Regions from separate parts of the Homo sapiens genome. Here region 2 is linked to region 1. Evidence: promoter capture Hi-C in human tissues and cell types (Jung and others, 2019). All regions are on one chromosome and are shown on one strand. The core of a region is centred on a gene start or on the middle of the fragment in contact, and the rest is flanking DNA. Distances in the headings are between cores, read along the strand shown. Region 1 holds the start of POT1 (protection of telomeres 1). Region 2 overlaps POT1-AS1 (POT1 antisense RNA 1).

Region 1 (3,995 bases), core at 923-3,422:
TGGCTCAAACCCATCTAAATGAGAGTCCCTTTGGGCTTCAAACTCCCCAATCCACTTGCCTACTGCACACTACTATTTATATACCTCTAAAGACCTTTCAAATATGACCAAAATTGAACTTATCATGTTTCTCCCTAAGTATGTACCCCCTATTTTCTTCTCCTTGTTGGCTAGGAATTAGAAACAGAAGTTTCCTGAATTTCTCTTTGCCACTCTAGTCTAATTGTTCTCTAAGACCTACTGATTCTGCTTCTTTATCCTGTCAGGTCTAAAGGAAATCATCTATATTCAAATTCCTGCTCTACTTCATATCATCAATATGATCTCAGGCAAATTGCTTAACCTTTCTGAAACACAGTGTCTTTAATAACAGTACCTATGTCATAGGTCTTTGTGATGATTAAATAATATACGTAAAAACTACCTAACGCATGGAAAAAAATGCAATGAATGTTAACTTTAGTTATTATTATTACTATCTTTTTTCAATATCCTTCCCATCATCCCCTCTGCCACTGGCCCAGATCATCATCAACTCTCACCTAAATTACTGTAATTGCCTCTTAACTAAACATCTTTCCTCTAATCTTGCATTCGCCAATATATTCTCTACCTAGGAGCAAAGTTTTTTGAACTCAAAGTAAATCATGTCTTTCTCCTGCTAAAACCTACTAAAGACTTCCCATAGCTTTTAGAGTAATATCCAAATTCCTCAACATGCACATAAGGACTGCTTTTTACCTCAAAGGAAGGTACAGCACAGTCTGTTATCCCGTAAGTTCCAGCTCAACTTTCGTGATCTGTCAGAACCAAAAGCTCTCTCATGTTCACACATCACAATGCTAATATCACACCTATTAATTTTAATTGGAGATCAGGTGATTGATCTGTCAGACCCCACAGAAATGTGATTATCTTTAGTTCCGGGACTATATTTATTCATCTTTGTACCTCAGAAACTTACTCCAATGTTTCACACACGAATTTGATAATTGTTCGCTAAATAAGTACTGAATAAGAATAACTTATTGAAATATTCAATCTCAAATGTTATGACAAAGATAAAAACCATACCTAAACCAGTTCTCATAAATAAACTCAACACTTAAAAACTGCATTCCTTTTAGTAGGAAAAAGCATTCTGAGTTATAGAAATTCTTACCTGAATATATTTCTTGCTATAATTGTAACCTGGCTGTAGGGATCCGAAATCTACTTTATGTAATTTACTCAGCGGCTGAACTTCAGGCACCCCATTGACTTCCTTTATTAATTCAAGTGGCATATCAGTTCTGCTTCACACTGATGTCCAAAGCAAATTCAACTAGGGAATCTGACAACTTGCTGCTGAAAATACAAAACCAGTGTTTTACCCAAAATGAAGTCAATAATTTGCTTTAAGTCTCTTTGACTTAGTTATGCTTTTCCTTATTATAGTTAACACGGTTCGGGGTTGGGGGGTGACAGGAGGATGGATTATTTTACAATTTTATTGCAAAGATCAATACAAAACATTCTTCCAAGGAACTGAAACTTAACCATTTTCTACTTAGCTGCGTAAAGTACCTCCAAAAAGCCAGTTTTAAGATCTGTAACGTCACTAACAAACGCTTTTAACATTGTGCTTTAAAATGTAAAATTTATTGGGGAAGAGGGAGGCTGAAAAATCGTGTTTTTTTTTAACCCCCACGGGAGCTGTAATATTGTATAGACAAACTGTGCACCAAAAGCATCGTACTCCAACATGTTTCTGTGGCCCCCTCCCTTCACCCGCTAAATAAATGAAGAAACAAAAATTACTGAACTGAGATTAACTTCTGCATCGTAGGCTCAACCTTATTTCACAGACCTCTTGACGGGGACACTCACTAGTGTCGATATCTAATTTTAATGTTTGCGCACCAACCTTCCCCCAAGCCACCTGAGCTCTGTGAGGGCGGGGACTTGGACTTAACTCCTGTCTGCTTCTCCCAAAACACCAAGAAAGATGCTGAACACAGCAGGCTCGAGATAAACACTCGTAAGAAAGCGTTTCTCTGCGATAATTACATCAAATTTTGATCTAAACTAATTCAATCCCGGGCCCGTTACGTCTGGCACCCACTCAAATGAACACACCAAACCTTACAAATTTCACTCACCCGTACTCTAGAAAGAACCCTAGGAAGAGTTTAGGCGGGCGCGCAGGTGACGTCACACGCACGCTGACGGTTCAGCTCCACGCATGCGTGCAGGATCCCTGGGCATAGTCGCTTGTTCTCCGCCCGCGGTGGACCAGCTGCGTAACGGTTCACACACTGATGGCGCCTGGAGGTTTGGCGAAATACTGACAGGATGCGACGTCAACGGGAGCGCAGGGCCAAGGTACAGGCCCCGCCCAGTCCGGTCACATCCCCCGGAATTCTCGCAGCTCCCCTTAGCTCCGCCCCCAGTGACTTTCCAGCTTTCGTGGCGGGAGGCAAGCTTAGGGGAAGCGGGCGGGTCCGCTGGGCGGGATTTGAGCTTCCCTTTGGTAGATTCGAAGCTCCTGTAGGCAGAGCCTTTCTTTTAATGTCCAGTTCTCTTCCTCCAAGAAATAGGCACCTACTGCAGTCTTTACAAGGAAGCATTTACAAGGATAACAATGTTATTTGGGAGTTTTTATAGTAATTTCGGGCATTGGCATAATGCCACCATTGAGTCTTGCTATTTACAGACAGATTTGATTAACCTTGTCATTGTTTTATAGGGCCATGATTTTGTGGTATAATTAATATTTATTATAATTTATTTTATAGGTTTATTATAGTTTATTTAATATTTATTATAACTTATAATTGATAAATATTATAATTTATCATTTATAATGATAAATTGTTAAACATGAATTCTCTGCTAATTCCAGATATATGCCTTCAATCATTTAAGTGAAATCATCCTAGTGTGAAACTAAATGTAATAAAGAATTACATGAATATTTCCAAGGCTAATTTGAACTAAAATATCTTCTTTATATACATATTTGCAGGAGGATATAGCTAACTTTTTTTTTTTTTTTGAGACGGAATCTCGCTCTGTCACCAGGCTGGAGTGCAATGGCGCAATCTCGGCTAACTGCAACCCCCACCTCCCGGGTTCAAGCAATTCTTCTGCCTCAGCCTCCCTAGTAGCTGGGATTACAGGCGCAGGCCACCATGCCTGGCTAATTTTTGTATTTGTTTAGTAGAGACGGGGTTTCCCATTTTGGCCAGGCTGGTCTCGAACTCCTGACCTTGTGATCCGCCCACCTTGGCCTCCCAAAGTGCTGGGATTACAGACATGAGCCACTGTGCCCAGCCAGCTATGTTTGAAGTGCCTTTTTAATCAACAGGAAGCATTCAGTATTAGCCCATCTCCTGTTTCCCCTCCCCATCCCTGTAGTTATATCCCACGCAGAAGCCGGGGTGACAAGTGCATGAACTCAGGAGCTGTCCATTTGAGGAAAACTATAGGGAAGGTTTAGATGCTATCCTCCTTCCATCTCTGGCTGCATCCGGCTGAGAAATACTATTCCTCCTTTTTATGTGAAGCCCTCCACATGGGCTTTGGACCCTGACCAATTTCATCTCCCTTCCATCATCATCAATATATTTTCTCTTAATGTATTTTAAGCTTTCCTTCTTTTATTCATTCTTTCCCGTCACCATTTAAACACATTCTCCCAGGCTCTTGCTCTGTCGCCCAGGCTGAAGTGCAGTGGCGAGATCATAGCTCGCTGCAGCCTGGAACTCCTGGGCTCAAGCTATCCTCTGGCCTCAGCCTTCTAAGTAGCTGGGACTACAGGCACAGGCCACCACACCCGGCTAATTTTTTAAAAAAATTTTGTGGAGACGAGTTCTCACTATGTTGCCCAGTCAGTCTCACACTCCTCTGTGGGTACTAAATATTTGTTGAATGAACAAATGCTGAGGAAAACTGTTTATCTTACTTCTGACTTCCACCCCTCCATCCCACCCCTGCCCCCCACCACCCCATTA
Region 2 (4,028 bases), core at 669-3,168, 41 kb after region 1:
AGAATTGCGTGAACCCGGGAGATGGAGCTTGCAGTGAGCTGAGATTGCACCACTGCACTCCAGCCTGGGCAACAGAGCAAGACTCCGTCTCAAAAAAAAAAAAAAAAAAAGAAAAAAAGAAAGAAAAATAAAAGTTGAAATGATAAAAAAAAGAGATGGTTTTATTCCTCTTAAAAAAGCAAATTTAAATATAATAAGTGACAAAACTTATATCTTGCATTTGTACTTGACATTGTTCTTGCAGTCCTGATAATTTATTTTTAAATATTTAAGTATTATTTTAGGACTAATTTCTAATTCTTGATGCCCAGAAATGAAGTCATCATTTTCAAAATCTCTACTGGACTGGGCTAGAAATTTGACTTTTCACTGTGACTTTTCATCTCTTGAATATAAAAAAACAGAGACATTCATATCTTTCCCCTTTATCTTACAGAAAAGGTTTGATATAAATACACGAGATTTGGGTTTTACCTGTCATTTTGGGGAGAATGCCATTTTTTATTTATCAGTGACTAATTGAGAAATGATTGGATCTTATATATCTTTAGTAAGAAGCCCTTACATTTATTTTCGGGCGCCATCGTTATTTGACATCAAACAATTGAAAGGCAATTCTTAAATAATCGATGATACAAAAGTGAATGGCTACTGAAACAGATATGCTAAAAATAAAAATCTCATACTTTCACCTAGATATAAAATTGAATGGAAGGCCGAGGCAGACAGATCACAAGGTTAGGAGAGGGAGACCATCCTGGCTAACGCGGTGAAACCCAGTCTCTACTAAAAATACAAAAAATTAGCCGGGCGTGGTGGCGGGCACCTGTAGTCCCAGCTACTCAGGAGGCTGAGGCGGGAGAATGGTGCGAACCCAGGAGGCAGAGCTTGCAGTGAGCCAAGATTGCGCCACTGCACTCCAGCCTGGGCAACAGAGTGAGATTCCGTCTCAAAAAAAAAAGAAGGCTGAATAGATTATTTCTACAGAAAAAAGTTCTTTGAAAGTTAATCAACATAATAATTTTAACATCACATATAAAAATGTTAAAATATTAAATTATGAAAAATGAGATTCGTATCAACTGGGAAATGAAACTGGATAAATAATTCTTTATGAAACAAACTCACACATCTGAGGGAGGCCATATTAGCTGTTAATCTTGTTGAGAAGGTACCTGTTTAAAGCTTCAATCTACAACATCAAACCTATTGAATTGTTCAAAACCAAATATATGTTTTAATAAGTTAGAAGTATGTTAAAATTAAATCAATTTTCACCCAAAATACAAGTTCAAAAATGTGTAGAATAATTTCAACATGTTGTATAAAATTTCTAAAAGTTTTATATTCCTGTAGTGATAGCTGTCCACTCTTGGGAAACTTTCCTGTCAAAACTAAGAAAAATAGGGTTATATACAACATGGTACCTACAATTATGAGGTGTATGGCTTACCAATTGTTTTAATTGATAGAGTAAATCATATTTACAAAATTCATACATGCTAAGCACATTGTGTATCTTTATTTTTGCCTGTCTTCTTCCCTGAACAAACACCATAGACATTCATTATGGATACTCAACTTGCTAGCTCTAGAAACAGATAAAGTGAAGATAATCAAAGCTATATGGCTGGAAGATAGTTTTGGGCAATGTGAAATCATTAACATATTGTAAGAAAGCCCCTAATTCATAGTAAATGTTATGTTGAAGTATTTCTTTGAAAAGATTTGTTGTTAAAATACTAATTTATTGCTTCTCAAAATGTATTGAACAGCATACAACATAGGAAAAGCTTGCCAAAAGCAAAATGACATTTTGACAAGAACACTAAATTTAGTTTTCTTAATTAGTATTTTAACAACAAATATTTTCAAAGAAATATTTCAAAAAAACCATTTACTTTTAAAGTGGAAGTATGGGAAATAAATGTTTATTTTACTGCCATTTCATTAGGAAATGGGGAGTGGATGGTCCACCTCAAGAATTAAAGTTTCTTAAGATTACTGTGGTTTGTTGTGTCATTTCTATGCATTAATAACTGAAGTTGAGGAGTTTATAGCTGATTATTTTGGAAATAAACTTGTTAATACTTTCTCTGGAACTTTTGTTTTGAGACTTGAAAAATGTCTATGAATTTTTTGTTGCAGTAAGGAAGATAAAAAGTTTAGAAATTGCATGCTTCCCTTATTACAATATAACCTGCCTTTATGTTTGTCTAAATGGCTTTGTCTTCAAGTAGGTAGAGCCCTAAATATAATATAGAATAACAGACATGAGTTTTTTAAAAATTTCAAAATACTGTTGGCAATAGTTATTTAGAATTCAGAATATATTTTCTTTTATGGAAAAAGAAATAGTAAGTTTTAAGTAACTCCTAAGGTTAACAATACATATATATAATCCAATGTGTAGCTGAACAATAAAATTAAATACAATAGTTTAATTTATTAAGTGGTCAGTGACTTATTTTAATCACTAAAATCCGTGTTAAGACTACGTCATTTAGGCCTCGTGCGGTTGCTCGTGCCTGTAATCCCAGCACTTTGGGAGGCAGAGGCGGGTGGATCTCTTGAGCTCAGTAGTTCGAGACCAGCCTGGGTAAAATAGCAAAACCCTATCTCTACAAAAAATACGAAAATTAGCTGGGAGTGGTCGCACACGCTTGTAGTTCCAGCTACTTGGAGGATCGCTTGGGCCCGGGGAGGCAGAGGTGGCAGTGAGTCGAGATCACTCCACTGCACTCCAGCCCAGACAACAGAGTGAGACCCTTCCCTCTCCCCCGCCAAAAAAAGACTACGTCATTTAATCGTGGAATAGGTTTATACATTCAATATATAAGAAATTTAGAGTATTCATATCAATAAAATTTGAGTACTCATATCCTATTTTCTTGACTATATATATTTAATATTGAACTTTTAAAATTGAATTTTAATACAGACTTTTGAAATTGTCAAACAAAAACAAACAAATGTATTTAAATTCTGTTTCTAACGAAGATTATGGCCAAAATCTTTACTCTCATACTTAGAAATGATGAATAAATTGTAACTAAAAGTGAGGTGTGTGTGTGTGTGTGTGTGTGTGTGTAGTGTCAAAAATGAAGAAGGAGCATTTAAGAGCACAAGTTGATATTGCTTATCTAGGAGGTGATTATCAAATTCAGAAACAAACTATAATGCCCAAGAATTTGAGCCATAATGTCCATGCAGAGACAAAAGATGAGACTTCAGGAGAAATTAAACACAAAGTTGGAACTAAGGCAGCTACACAAAGTTAGCATCTTCTGACTTTCCACCTTTGGTGATGATAAAAAAAAAAATTACAATGACCTAATATGAGTCGAGTTGTCATATCTCTGCTCAGTTCTTGGTAGAAATAGAAATATCGCATGAGAGTTCAAAATGAAGAGTGTGCCATACATAGGTTTGAAGTCTGATCCAAACTTGTTTATATATGTGAATCTTGTATATATGTGAATCTTGTATAAGATAAGTGAATCATGAAATGGAAGCATTAAAATTGGTACTGGAGTCATAAAGATAGACATATAGGTAAGTGGAATGGAATTGAAAGTCCAGAATTAAACCCTTATAACTAAAGTCAAATTATTTTGGACAATGGTACTGTATTAGTCAGAGTTCTCCAGAGAAACAGACCAAACAAGATGCGTGTATGTATGTGTATATGTGGAATGACGGATACCAGTCTGCCTCTCTCTGTCTCTCTCTCTCTCTCTCTCTCACACACACACACACACACAGTGAGAGAGAAAGAGGGAGAGATTTATTTTAAGGAATTGGCTCATGTAATTGTGGAGACTTGGCAAGCCCGAAATATGTAGAGTAGGCTGGCAGACTATTGACCCAAGGAAGAGTAAAAGTTCAAGCCAAAGGCAGTCTGCTGCCAGGATTCCTTCTTGCTCAGAGGTCAGTCTTTGTTCTACTAAGGCCTGCAATTGCTTGCATGAGGCCCACCCACATTATGGAACCCATCCACATTATAGGGGGTAATCTCCTTTACTCAA

Evidence for each region. The method cuts DNA at HindIII sites, captures the fragments that hold promoters and counts their contacts. A contact is called where the count stands out against the background at its distance.
Region 2: a contact is called between a fragment that was not itself captured here and the fragment with the promoter of POT1 in region 1, in 1 of the 25 tissues and cell types used here (hippocampus).

The regions. Positions count from the first base shown.
Region 1 is chr7:124,927,653-124,931,647 of GRCh38, forward strand. POT1 (protection of telomeres 1) reads right to left here and starts at 2,173. Exons shown (of 19, transcript NM_015450.3): 1 at 2,142-2,173; 2 at 1,163-1,347. It overlaps POT1-AS1 (POT1 antisense RNA 1), which reads left to right and starts at 2,221. Exons shown (of 8, transcript NR_125719.1): 1 at 2,221-2,364. RefSeq lists enhancers at 2,109-2,408, 2,163-2,457. The HindIII fragment of the contact is 5,005 bases long and covers 1-3,046 here.
Region 2 is chr7:124,968,722-124,972,749 of GRCh38, forward strand. The region is part of intron 2 of POT1-AS1 (POT1 antisense RNA 1); the gene reads left to right. Among named protein-coding and RNA genes, the nearest start is that of POT1-AS1, 41 kb to the left of the region's middle. The HindIII fragment of the contact is 4,786 bases long and covers 1-4,028 here.